2 separate regions of the Homo sapiens genome follow, and region 2 is linked to region 1. Evidence: promoter capture Hi-C in human tissues and cell types (Jung and others, 2019). All regions are on one chromosome and are shown on one strand. The core of a region is centred on a gene start or on the middle of the fragment in contact, and the rest is flanking DNA. Distances in the headings are between cores, read along the strand shown.

Region 1 (7,168 bases), core at 2,112-4,611:
TTCAACAATACTTGTTAAAGCATGGTAGAATTTATTCAGGACCATCATGATAGTTATAGGGACCACTGCAATGCGGTCCTTCAGTGGGGAAGACAGACTGGACTCAACTTCAAATACAGCAAGAACCCCCTACCCTTGATATCTGATCACTCTCTTGCCAAACTGACTTAGTAGTGTTCTTTGCTAAAACTGGATTTTACAAGGAAGTACAATGATGGTGCTAGGAAGTTTCAGAAGACTAACTAAAGTTTGGTCAAGCAAAGAATTGTTGTTAGCAGTAATTTGAAATTGGTTTTATTACAATAGCTTGCCCTTGATTTATTTTTAGTTGTGTCCTAATCTCTTTCAGAAATATGGTCCATCTTAATTTGCATGAGTGACTTAATCTATATGAGCCTCAGAGAGGTACTTCTACAATAATTCATGTTTTATTATAAATTGCTTTTGAGTGGACACAAGGCGTTTCAGGAGGTAGTATTGCGCTAATTATCAATCCTTTAAAAATAATTAGAGGCTAAGTAACAAGAATTAAATCTAACTTCCTTTTGGGCCCCTTTATTAGTCAAGATGGATGTTTTCCACTTTAAGAGAGAAGCAAATGGCTTGATGGGCTGGCATATCAATGTAAACCTCTCTCTGACATCAGTACTTCTATACTTTTCCTACCACACAGAGCAGTATTGAATCAGGAGGTGATGAGGCTGCAAAGAAACTAATTATTATTATTATTATTATTATTATTATTATTATTTTTAGAGATAGAGTCTCACACGGTCCCCAGGCTGGAGTGCAGTGGCGTGATCTTGGCTCACTGCAACCTCCACCTCCCAGGTTCAAGCCATTCTCCTGCCTTGGCCTCCCAAGTAGCTGGGACTACAGGCGCGTGCCACCACGCCTAGGTTATTTTTGTATTTTTAGTAGAGACAGGGTTTCACCATGTTGACCAGGATGGTCTCGATCTCCTGACCTGATCTGCCCACCTAGGCCTCCCAAAGTGCTGGGATTACAGGGGTGGGCCACCATGCCAGGCCCGAAGGAACTAATTTTTAAAAATATTCACTGATCAGTTGTCCTTGAGAAGACTTGAAGCATTTCACTATTTTAAGTCAATCTCAAATTTGTCATCTGAGCAAAATAGAATAAAGATGCCACTGAACCTAGAGGAAAGATTAGGTAACCAGGAATCCTACTTTCAGGTTTCCTTTATCTCTTCTTTTTATGATCTCTTTGGAGTCTCAGTCCCAAGTCCTGCACTACTCTCCATGGTCATGGAGCACTCTGATACTGTTTCCATCTAAAAAAGAAAACAACTCCGAGAAGAAGGGGGTAGCCAGAGCTCTTCCTTGGAAAAGGATGACTTAAGGATAATTTGAGGAAGGAAAAAAGACTTTCTTTCTATAAAAATCTACTATTAGAGGCCACTCTTTTCTTTTCTTTTTTGAGGCAGGGTCTCACTCTGTAGCCCAGGCCAGTCTTGAACTCCTGGCCTCAAGCAACGCTCCTGCCTTGGCCTCCCAAAGTGCTGGGATTGCGGGTGTGAGCCATTGCACCTGGCCTAGAGTCACTCTTTTGGGTTAAGACGTTCTCTCTAGAAAGCCTCCGTTAATTATAGGTAAGGATTGATACATTGACCTATTACCTCAACTATGATTTCAGCAAAGATAATTTCACTATCCCAATCAGCTGTTAACTTAGAAAGCTAGACTTTTATGGTGTTAACCACACACACATACAGACGCACACACACGAGCAGCTTTGGGTCTTCCAATCCTATACTTAGCACATTGTAGCACAAAGAATCTCCTTAATATATTTTTATTAAGTTAATAGGTGAATAGGAAAGGCTGTAGTGTGTTATACGGGGAAATAGACTCAGGTGTGTCTAGATATTAAAGTCGGTATATTAAGGTTACCAAGCGTGAAAGATTTTGATGGAAGAATGAAAACATCCATGTCCAGGACTTCCAGTTTCATTTCTCAGTCACTAATTTCAAGTCACCAAATAAACAAAGTGAAAATGGGTGAAACGTACTTTGAGTTACAATAAGTTTATCTTAATTCATTGACTTTTCAACTGCTCAGATGTCTTAAAATTTTTTAAAAAGTAAGTTGTTATAGTAAAGAGCCACACAAATACTCATAGCAGAGGAACAATTTCTGGATTATGTCGGTGAGCTTTTTAAGGGTTTGGGGAGGATGAGAATAAAAGGGTGACTTTTTATTTTCAGTTTTTCTATCTGGATGTGTCAAATTCCTGATAACTTCTAACACTCAGCAATGGAAATTTAGAAGGTGCCTGAAAGAACAAATAGAATTTTCAGACCTGGAGAAATTCTAGTAATCATCACTCTGGGACATATTATTAAAATTAGTATTTTAAAAAAGAAAACAATCTTTCAGAAAGACAGGAAGTTTAGGAGCCAAAGCCAGAGGCCCTAATACAAATCGCCCCCACCTCCCCATCCCCCCATCCCCACCTTCTTCCCCGCCCTGTTCAAACACGCCCACAGCCCAGGAAATAATGAGACCCAAGTGATCCAGCTAGATAGAAAAAGTAGTTTGCTTGGCATCTCCCAAATTATCTTGAGCAAACAATAAAATAAGAAATGTTTCAGAAGACAATTCGGCTCCCAGGCCCAAACCAAAACTCGAACCTGGTACTTTTTGTAAGTGCGGGCCAAGAAAGGGGCTGTAAAGTTAAAGAGCCGGTGGCGCCTCTGAACACACCCGGGCAGGGCGAGCAGGATGTCCTTGTCCAGGGAGACCCCTTCTCCTGGCTTTGAGGAAGGTGCTCCCTATCCCCGCGGGTTCCTCCGCCAAGCGGGACGCCGCGCCGGGCGGGTGAGAGAAAGCCCGGGCAGGAGAGCACAGAGCCGGCGACTGGACGCGAGCGCGGGGCGGGTGGAGAGCGTCTCTCCGGGCGCCGCTGCTGTTGTCCCGGGTGCTGAAAAGCCGGGAACTTCCCGGGAAGCAGCGGCACTTTTCTCCCTGGAAGGTGGGTGTGGGGGTTCCAGACTGCGCACCTGCTAAACCCTCCTGGGTCCCCCGGGAGGGGTCCGCCAGATGTGCCCCTTCCCAGCCCCATTCGGGGGAGAAGGATGGGGGCGGGGGCGTGGGGGTGAGCACAGCCGGACACCGCAAGTGGGAACCTGGGGTGTCCTTCCCCGCAGCTCCCGGGCAGCCGCGCGCCGCGAACCCCGGTCCACCTGCAAGCAAGGCGGGCCGGGGGCAGAGGGCGCCGGGCTGTGCGGGGGAACCGGCCCGCGTCCCGGGATTGGGGGGCGGTGGAAGAGAGAGCGAGCGGGCATGCGCAGTGGGGCGGAGGAGGTGGCGATGGCCGGGGGAGGCGGGGGGACTGCTGTTTATTTGCAGCTGGGCCAACTCCGCGGCGCAGGCGGCGGCGGAGCGCGGGGAGCTCGCGGCGGGTCCAGCTGCCGCAGCACCATGCCCGAGCCCCCCTCCGGGCAGACGCCGCGCGCCGCCGGGGCCCCGGTAGGGGAGGATGCCAGACGCCCGGGAGAGGCCAGGGCAGCAGCGGCGGCGGCGGCGCGATGGTGGTGACCACCTCTGCCCGAGGCGGCGGCGGGGACCGCACACCCTCCCGGCGGCGGGGCTGCGGGCTAGCGCCGGCCGGGGCCGCGGCGCTGCTGGCCGGGGCAAGCTGCCTGTGCTACGGCCGCTCCCTGCAGGGCGAGTTCGTGCACGACGACGTGTGGGCGATCGTGAACAACCCCGACGTGCGGCCCGGCGCCCCGCTCCGCTGGGGCATCTTCACCAACGACTTCTGGGGCAAGGGCATGGCCGAGAACACCAGCCACAAGTCCTACCGGCCGCTCTGCGTCCTCACCTTCAAGTGAGTCCCTCACCTCGCGCTAGCCGCCGCTGCCTCCTCTACCCTCCGCCCGTCCCTCGGACCGGGAGAAGTTGCGGGACTGACTTGGGGGCATTTCATTTTTGCCGCCCTTTCCCTCCACGCCTCCCTCCTCTCCAGGATGTGCATGGCACTTTGCTCCGGGATCCACTGCCCGGCTAATCTGGGCTCTCGGGGCGGTTCGGGAGGCGCCGGCTGGGGAGTTGGGATCGAGTTTCTCAACTGTCTGCCCTCTCAGCGGGCTTCTCTCTCGAGGCAGGGCTGGGAGCGGGCTGGTGAAACCGCCTCCGCACCCCTTCGCCTGCCGGATCGTGACCAAGTGGGACTAGCGCGGACCCAGAGGGTTCCGGAGGGGTGGCGGTGGTGGCGATGCTTCCAAGTAGAGAATTTCTCGGAGGCTGTTGGGCAGCTTTGCAGATGAGAAGTGTATCAGCCCCTTAAGGGTTTCGTTCAGATGAGACGAGGCGGGAGCCTTGAGCTGACAGGGCTGCGTGGGTTCAGGAGAGGGAGCAGAAAACTCTCCCGAGCCCCCCAGCCCCCGCCTTGCACCCTTGGCTGCTCCCAGAGGCTCTCCAATCTGCCAGACTTCTCTGGATCTAGACTTTAGAAGGTGCAGAGAGAGGTAACGCAGAGCCTAGGCTTCTCCAGGGACCCTGGGGCCCCAGCCGAAATAGTTTTTCTTTTACAACCTCGGAGTCATGATTCAGCGTTTCTGGTGTGAATAAGCGTAAAGGGAACCGAGAATATGCCAGGTTTTTGAGGGGTGGAGTATTTTCTTTAATTTGAAAAGAAGCCTAGCTTCTGAGGAAAGAAGAGAAGTGCTCATTTAAGGGAAATGCTATCTTACACAATCAGGAGCTTGACTCAACCCTTTATAATGTGGCTCAGCATTGAAGTTCATTTTAACGCGCCGGTCAAAACTGTTGAAATAATATTGGTGCGCTATTATCGGCGTTTTAAGCCTTTTTGCAACGGGTGTAATAGGAACCCGTGTTTATGGTAATGATTATTTGAGACTGGGTTGGCAGCTTGAAAAGCCTGCTCTGGATGAGAGGCTGAGGCCTCTTGACAGGTGTCTCTGATGACTCAGAAAAGGAAACCATAGCAATCGGCAACAATTCATGGGCTTTTGACTTACGTCTTCCACTGAAAGTTTAATGTTTTTAAGGAGAGTGAGAAAATTACATATTTGACTTTGAAGAGAATGTGTTATAGACATTTGTTCTCTTAGAAAGTTGTTCTCGTTTTCTACTGAAAGATAACCTTGGCTAACCTCGCTATTCAGTTTCCCAGATGTTTCTTAAAATCTCCTTGGGACAAATATAAATGTTTCACTTCTAGATTGACCTGCTTTTTCATTATTACAGTCAGGGTTGTTGGTTAATTTAGGATGTGCAAGTTCACAGCATGAGATGTGCTTGCTATCTTTGTAACAGCCATGGAGACCATCCTGGTCACAGGTCTGAGTATTTTTCAATTAAAAAGGGCAGAGTCAAATGCCTGTGCCTACTTGCTGGAGAGTAGGGAAGGGTGTTTTCACTTCTTGACTTTCTAGAAGGTTTTCTTCTTTTTTCTCTGTCTTTTCTCTTTTTTTCTTTTTTGGGATGGGATCTCACTCTGTCCTCCAGCCTGGAGTGCAGTGGCATGATTATTGCTCACTGTAGCCTGAAACTTCTGGGCATAAGCAATTCTCCTGCCTCAGCCTCCCAAGTAGCTGGAACTACTACTGGCACATGCCGTGCATCCAGATATATTTTAAAATTTTTTTTGTAGATATGGGGTCTTCCTATGTTGTCTAGGCTGGTGTTGAACTCCTGGGCTAAGCGATCTTTAAGCCTCAGCCTCCCAGTGTGCTGGACTTGTGGGCATGAGCTACTGTACCTCACCTAAAATGTTTTATTTTTCTTCATAATGGAGACAGCAGGCACATAAGGGAGGGGTGGAGGGAGTAGACAAAGAAGTAAGACCATTGATTAAGAGGAAAATTGGCTAGGAGTTGACAGAACAAGGGCAAAGGAGAGTTGGGGGATTCAGGAGGAAGAGAGCTGAGGGACTCTTGTGGTAATCATTGATTGTAACAAGCAGCTTGGTGTCTAAGAGGCATGGCTTGCTGTATATTATATGCTACTGCCTATGAAAGATACACTCTTTTTTTGAGAAGATTGAGTTGCAAATCTAGAAGAGAAACACAGCACTAATTGGAAAGAGATAACTGCCTCTTCAGAAAGAGAATGTTAAGTAGTCTTTCTGTCCTCACATGCATTGATTTAAATAAGACTGGACAGTTTTCTTTATATTCACCTGAGGTATAGCATGAAGCTGGAGGATATCAGTGATTTTAGAACCATACAACTCTACAGGATGGTACAAGGAAGGACAGAAAGCCGTATTTATTAACTATTCGCTATGAACCAAGCATTGGCCTAGATACTTCACATAGATTACGTCTTTATGATTTTTATTTTAGATAGTGAAAACACAATTGAAGGGGCCCTTTAAATATGTGCAAACCATTTTAACTGTATCTTAAATTATGCTTGTTTGAGCAAAAACTTTGAGATTTCAAACCCGTTTTAAAAACTTTTTTAATGTAATTGTGCATTCCCATGCAGTTTTAAGTAATAATAGAGAGATTCCTTCTACTCTATCCATTTCCCCCAATGGTAACATCCTGTATTATTATGGTATAATATTACAACCAGGAAATTGATATTGATGCAATCTACAGCATTTAGTCAGATTTCACCCATTTTATATGTACTTCTATTTTTTTTATTTTACTAAGTGTGTATTTAGTTTTATGCAGCTTTATCATATGTGTAGATTTCAGAGAGTACCTCCACAGTCAAGATACGGAACAATTCCATCCCAAGGATCCTCAGTACTTCTTTATTGCAATCATGGACACCTAATCTATAACAACTGCCTAATCCATAATCCCCTCACCCAAATCCATAACAACCATGAATCTGTTCTCCATTATCATTTTGCCATTTTAATACTGTTGTATAAATGGAATCACATAGTATGTAACCTGTTGAGATTGGCTTCTTGCACTCAGCATGTCTCTGGATCTTCATTCAGGCTGTTGCATGTATCCATAGTTTGTTCCTTTTTATTGCTGAGTTGTATTCCATTGTATGGATATACCACAGTTTGTATAACCATTCACCTGTTGGGGACATCTAGGTTGTTTCCAACTTTTGGCTGGGATAAAGCTGCTATAAAAATTCACTTACAGGTTTTTATGTAAACATAGATTTTTATTTCTCTGTTCTAAATGCCCAGGAGTCCAAT
Region 2 (7,168 bases), core at 1,257-3,756, 180 kb after region 1:
CACTCACTCACGTTTCTTTCTATGCATAAGGGACCCTTTAGTCACTGCCATTAGGTGAAGGTCAGTTCCATAGCAAAGTGTGCAAAACGCTCATTATCCACTTGCTGACATGACTAGTCTTATTGCCTGCTTTGTACATTCCATATCTTCTCCCAAGAATGTGCCTAGCTGTGACCACCCCTCATTCCCAAATTTGTCTTCCTTGTAAACGTTTATTGATATTTCAAGCCCAGATGTCACCTCCACCAAAAAGCCCTCTCTGCCTGCTCCCCTTCTTCTACCCAGTTTTTTCCTCTGTATCCTGCCTGATACATTTATTCACTTAATTGATTTATTCAGCAAATATTCACACCGGGCACTGAGCTAAGCAAAAGTCGTTCACCAGTGAACACAAGTCAGGAGCACTCTGTGCTCATGGAGCTCACATTCTAGTGAGGCAGACAGACAATAAAGGCAGTAAACACCCAGATACACACGTAATTACAACTAGAGTGATGTCATGAAGGAAATAAAGACTGTGCTGGTGTCTGAAGAAACTGGTGGAGGAACAGATGAACACGCAGCCCTGTGGCTTTTCCATGTGCACATCAGATTTCTGGGGGAGGCTGATCGCTCCTTGACTCTCCCCCCATCTCCGCATCCCCAACAGCAATCAGTGCCATGGGCATCCTGCTCACTACGGGTGTCCGTGAGTGAGGGGGGGGGGCAGGAAGGTTGGCTGTGCTCCCAACTGACACCCACCACTGAGATGAAGGCACCTCCCAACCTGGTCCAGCCTGGGTGACAGAGCCAGATTCAGTCTCAAAAAAAAAAGAAAGTGAACACCCACCGTAGTGAGGAAGGTGCGTTGGAAGGGTAAGAACGTGTGATGCTGGGGATATAGAGAGAAGCCTCTTTCAGATTCCCAGTGAGGGCTCTTTCCCAATAACCTTGATGAGGGGCCGTGGGGTGGCTCATTGGGTAAAACAGTATCTAGGGACATGGATAACAGCCTGATCATTGTTCTGTTTATACCTGCACTCTTAATTCTTAATTCTTAGGATGAATTACTAGGGTGTATTACATTCTCTTTAGAAACTTCTTTGGGAAGACGTGAATAATTTTGTAAAAAAGTATTTTAGCTTTCGAAGCATGAAAAGAAGTAATCAACTATCTCTATAAAAGTGCACCTATAAAAAGGGAATAGCAACTTACTACCCAATAATAAGCTCAGAGTGAATGAGGAACATTTGACAAGACACTCTTTATTTGGGGTCTGTTTTCAATTGTAAGAAGAAATACTTGCTCTTGATATACAGGATTCTTGTGAAGATTTTTTAAAATTATGTACTTGAAGGTAATGCTTATATAGTGTTGGTGGGAATGCAAATTAGTTCAGCCACTGCAGAAATAAGTTTGGAGATTTTTCATTGAATTAAAAAATAGAACTACCATTCAACCCAGCAATCCCACTACTGGGTGTATGCCCAAAGGAAAATCATTCTACCAAAAAGATGCCTGCACTTATGTGTTTATCACAGCACTTTTCACAATAGCAAAGACATGGAATCAGCCTAGATACTCGTCAACAGTGGATTGGATAAGGAAATTGTAGTACATATACACCATGAAATACTAAGCAGCCATAAGAAAGAACAAAATCATGTCTTTTGCTGCAACATGGAGGCTGTTAAAGGCCATTATCCTGAGCGAATTAACACAGAAACAGAAAACCAAATACCACATATTCTCACTTATAAGTGGGAGCTAAACCTTGGGTACACACAGACGTAAAGACGGGAACAATAGACATTGGAGACTCTGAAAGGAGGGAGGGGAAAGGGAGGCAAGGGCTGAAAAACTTGCTATTGGGTACGATTTTCACTCTCTGGGTGGCAGAAACAATAGAAGCCCAAGCCTCAGCATCACACAATATACCCTTGTAGTAAACCTGCGCATGTACCCCAAATTGAAAATAAAAATTTAAATTTAAACAAATAAATAAACTATACAGTTTAAATTCTCAAATTGAAATGTACTTTCTAAACCCAAAGTATAGTCTAAATTAAAAAGATAGCTTGCAGCTTTTAAATAAAATGAATTTGTTCTTTTTTTTTTTTTTTTTTTTTACCCTTTTTGGTCAGTTTTGGTAGATCATGAGTTGAAGGCTTGTTACATAATCTATTTTTTTCTTCCTTTAAATTCTGGTTCCTTTAGGTCAAAATGAGATCATTACTTATAGATCCATTAATTATTTAAGGGCAACTGTCCAAATCATATGGAATCACTCTCAGAAATTGTATTACCCTATATATTTTAGTCCGTAAAACAAATATTTTAATAACATCAAGGTGACAAGTATCCCAAGATGTTTAAAATCGTTATACTTTGTATAGTTAAAGTATTTGTAGCTTTTATTAGGGAGTTTTATTTACATTTATGAAATTCTTTTACTTATTCTTTTCCAATTATTAAAAATAATAGACTTTAAAATGTTTAAAGGAAACATTAAAAGTTGAAATATGGACAGTCTATTTGGTTTTTTTCTTAAACTTAAAAAATACATATTCTCCAGTACATTAAGTTTTGTTTTAAATATAACTCTCTTCAAATGTGTCTATACCATAAATACACATGGAAATACAAATGAGTTTTTACAATGTCATTGCAACATATTATCAGTAATAAACAGAAGTTTTTTTCTGTTAATTATAAGTGACATAAAAATCTTTGCAAATAAAGATATATAATAACAGAGGAGGTTCTTTGTCAATTTAATGAATTATTATAACGATTTTTTATTCAAAAAATCAATGGAGTAAATACTCGCTTGCCAGCCTAATTTGAGAGGTGTGAAGGTATGCTTCAATTCAAATGATTCTCTCTCCATTGGCATCCCAAATTTTATCATTAGTATTTGATTTTCTTGATGTTAAACTTTGCTTCTCCTGGTGAATTTTTTAAAGAAAATACATTATATTTTGGGAAGATATAATTAAATTCTCTGCAGTGCCTTACTGCATTTGATTTTAGCCAGTTGCTTTGCTCTTTGAGAATGGGGTGTCTGGAAAGACAGGGATTCTGAACGGAGCCAGAACCAAGAAGCAGGGTTGCTGTAAATCCAGCCCTAAACAACAGGTAGCGGTCACTGACTGTAGTGGGCCAATATCCATGTTTCTGGGTGGCAAATGTGTGTCAGGGTACATGTGTATGTTTTGACATGCCAGCCATTTTAGCCCGTCAGCTTTCTCTGTTAAATTCAGCACGCCGGTCAAAAGGTTTATATTGGTCTAATTTATTCATTTCTTCATTGAGAACCTGAAAGTGAAGGAGATGGTTAAATGCTGCCTGAAGTGGAATTCAACAGAAGTTAATGTTTCCTTCACTATTGTGTGTTTCAGAGACTGGAGCACAAGGAGGTTTTAGTCGGCTTGTTGTTCCTGGTGTTCCCGTTCATTCCAGCCAGCAACCTCTTCTTCAGGGTGGGTTTTGTGGTGGCGGAGAGAGTCCTTTACATGCCTAGGTAACTATTGCACGTGACTTCCTCCTACAAGACCTGCCCTCTGTCACCAACATTGATAGTTCCAGAGAGACAGTCTTCTGTGTGTAGACCATTAGATCCTCATGGGACAAGGGATATTATTATTTCAGCTTTAAAAACAGCCACACAGAAGGTTGGATGAGAGCAAATGTCCACACATGTACTCTTGTTTACAGTGGTTTACCTTCAGTTGCAAACTTTATAGTTTAAATGTGAAATATTAACTTGAGTATATTCAGGATTTTAGTAGTAATCATTTATCACTACATCTATGTCTAAATGGGTGTTATTAAACAGAATTATAATACTTTTCTAGAAATGTTTTTTGACTTGCATAAAAGTATTATGTTCAGTAGCATGATTGTAATTAACTTCTTTTGTTCGTTCTTTTTTCTTCAATTTAAAAATGGAAGCAATCTCAAGAAAATTTGTCCTTGGGAAAAGAACAATGATTTAAAAACTAGAAAAGACATTCAAATGTGTGTGATTACATAATGCCACTTAGCTCTGAATGTTTGAACTGTGCTGAAGCTTGTCTGTTCTCTTGTCTTATTCCAATGTCATTGTTCCAAGGCCACTTTTCTTTTCAGATGCTTGAAAATGTCACTGAATCAGGAAACCAAGTCTTGGTTCTGCCATTTATTGGTTGACTGACCTTGAACAAGACACAAAGCTTTTTTTGCCCCCAGATTTTCTCATTTTTACAATAGAGATTTTAGTAAACTCGCTAAAATTAACACTTTGGACTATGATACTGCCTTTTAGGAAAGTTCATTCTTCTTCTATAAGTATGAACTTTCCTAAAAGGCAGTATCATAAACCAAAATGTTAGGAGGAAATGAGTGTTTTTTATTTATGATATTGTACTAGAAATTTTAAAACACTTATAATTAGAAGTGAATTTCATAATCTTTGATTCCTTCAAACCAAATACCTAATAGCTTTCTTAACACTTTGCAGCATGTGGTTTTGACTTGGTTAAGGGGAAAGCAGCCCTTAATTGTTTACTGTGTCTTCAGCCCAATTTGGGAAGGAGATGAGTGCTTGATAAATACTATTCAATAAGGACAGAAATACAACACAATTCTTTATATTCTACGTGGTTTAAGGTAAGAGTCTTGTGAAGGCTTGCCAATAATAGGGAATACACCTGTAGTATAGAAGACCAAAAAGTGGCATCAATCTGTGTTCTAAATATGTTTTTGCTTAGACCAGTTGAATATATCTTAGCTTTTCTTTGTAGTACTGATGATTCCAATGGAATCATTCTTCATTTGATAGATATTCATAGAGCCCCTCTGCCATAAATGCTCTACTAAAATCTAGTGCTACACAAGTAAGTGAATCTCAGTGTCTGCCCTCAAAGAGTTAACTGCCAATTAACAAAATGGAATCTCTCATATTAAGCGTTTAATAGGTCCTAATATTTTATAAATACTATTGTATTCATTAATGCTATTTTGTCATTAATTGCATCAAAATTTTATTGCATTTTTATTATATTTCACTTACTATTATAAGCATGTTATATTCTTTATGTCAAGTAATTCACACTGTAGTAGTGGGTCACAGCCTGCCCCTGAAGTCAGAGGGCCTGCATTCAAACTCTGGCTTAAACATGATCGTGATTCCTCTAAGCTTGTTTTCTCATCTGCATAAAATGGAAATAGTAATAGCACCCAACTCAATGACATATTGTGATCATTAAATGAAACCGTTATAGGGCCAGGTGCAGTGGCTCATGCCCCAGCACTTTGGGAGGCTGATGCATGTATATCACTTGAACCCAGGAGTTTGAGGCCAGCCTGGGCAACATGGTGAGACCCTGCCTCTACAGAAAATAACAAAAACTTAGCCAGATGTTGTGGGATGCACTTGTGGTCCCAGCTACTCAGGAGACTAAGGTGGGGGATCTCTTGAGCCCGGAAGGTTGAGGATGCAGTGAACCATGATCGTGCCCCTGCACTCCAGCCTGGGTGACAGAACCAGACCCTGTCTCAGAAAAAATAAATTTAAAAACATGAGATGCCAGGCGCGGTGGCTCAAGCCTGTAATCTCAGCACTTTGGGAGGCCGAGGCGGGCAGATCACGAGGTCAGGAGATCGAAACCATCCTCGCTAACACAGTGAAACCCCGTCTTTACTAAAAATACAAAAATTAGCCAGGCACGGTGGCGGGCGCCTGTAGTCCTAGCTACTCTGGAGGCTGAGGAAGGAGAATGGTGTGAACCCGGGAGGCGGAACTTGCAGTGAGCTGAGATCGCGCCACTGCACTCCAGCCTGGGAGACTGCAAGACTCCGTCTAAAAAAAAAAAAAAAAAAGAGATGATTATATATAAAACTTAGAAAGTGTTTTGCATTATATATGGTCAATAAATACTAAGTATTTTTATTGTGATATCAGTTCCCTGAGGTAGCTGATAACATTATTGCTATTTTACAAAAATAAAACCTGGGCTCTGAGAGGTTGGTTAACTTGCCCCAAGCGGTATAGCTGGTGAGTGGCAGAGCTGGAAAACACATCCCTGTCTACTACAGATCTCTTACCTTCCAGACTATATTGCTTCCCTGATAGGAACATCTTAGTATTCTTCTCAATTACAAAATAAGAAGAAAATCTACACATAGTAATGGACTTTCGGCTCAACTCATGTGGTGATCAAGCTTCTAAGAGCCCTAATATCTAGTTCTTCAGGAGCTGGGGGTTCTGGGTGACAAAGATTTGTAAGCTCAGCAAAGTGTCATCTAGTTTAGATACAGGAGAATAATTTGTGAGGAAATAAAGGCAGAGTGAAGGGCTGGAATTTTTAACTAGACATTTAAATTTGATTCTTCTGAAAGAGACCTTAGGTAAATGTTACGGAAGCTCATAGTATTGTCGCCAACCCTTTGTGGGGTATCTTATTGTAAGAGGTTCATCTTGCCCGGGCAGGTATATCCTCCAACCCCCAGAATCATGCCAGCTCCGGCTTTTCCCATGCTGCCATATCTTAAATAAACCTTTCTATGACTCCAGTTTATTTTTTCCTAGGAATAAAATGCCCTTTTTCCTCTAGGAATAGGCTGATTTGGGTTAAAATAAAAGTACTGAAAAGAAAGCATCAATATTACCAACAGCAAGTGCCTGCCTCCCGGAACCAACCTCGGTTTTGCTTCATTTGCCAAATTCGGTAAAGAGGCACCCAAAATCAATTTCAGTAAACCAGTTTTCATTAAAAAGATGACTGTCCTTTTCTTTCCAAGTTCCTGCATCTATGCCTTGCAGCATTATCACTAAGTCATCTTTTTCTGAGTGTTTCTCTTTACTGCTTAGTGAATCCTGGACTAACACGTACCATCACCATCCCAGCCAGGCTACTTTCCCCCTCCGGAGATGCCATCTCAGCAGATGCCAGAGCCACCGGAGCAGAGGGTGGAGGTGCTTTCCTGACCCTTAGAGGTGGTCTGGGGGCTGACGAAAGGGTCAGGTCACTCAGCCAGGTTTACAGTCCTGACCTCATTTGAGAGTTTAACTTGGATTTCGGGAAACTGACACGGGAGGAATCTTAGGAATATTTGAATGGGATGCTGTACCTCTAGTGAATCCATCTTTCTTCACAGTCATTATTGTAACTAAAACTGCAAGGGAGCTATGTTCCTTTTGGCCCTG

The links. The method cuts DNA at HindIII sites, captures the fragments that hold promoters and counts their contacts. A contact is called where the count stands out against the background at its distance.
Region 2: a fragment that was not itself captured here is called in contact with the fragment with the promoter of TMTC1 in region 1 in 2 of the 25 tissues and cell types used here (IMR-90 fibroblasts and heart left ventricle).

The regions. Positions count from the first base shown.
Region 1 is chr12:29,780,135-29,787,302 of GRCh38, reverse strand. It overlaps TMTC1 (transmembrane O-mannosyltransferase targeting cadherins 1), which reads left to right and starts at 3,361. Exons shown (of 18, transcript NM_001193451.2): 1 at 3,361-3,853. The coding sequence starts at 3,552. The HindIII fragment of the contact is 32,748 bases long and covers 1-7,168 here.
Region 2 is chr12:29,600,512-29,607,679 of GRCh38, reverse strand. It overlaps TMTC1 (transmembrane O-mannosyltransferase targeting cadherins 1), which reads left to right. Exons shown (of 18, transcript NM_001193451.2): 7 at 3,381-3,502. Among named protein-coding and RNA genes, the nearest start is that of OVCH1, 110 kb to the right of the region's middle. The HindIII fragment of the contact is 6,331 bases long and covers 1-5,671 here.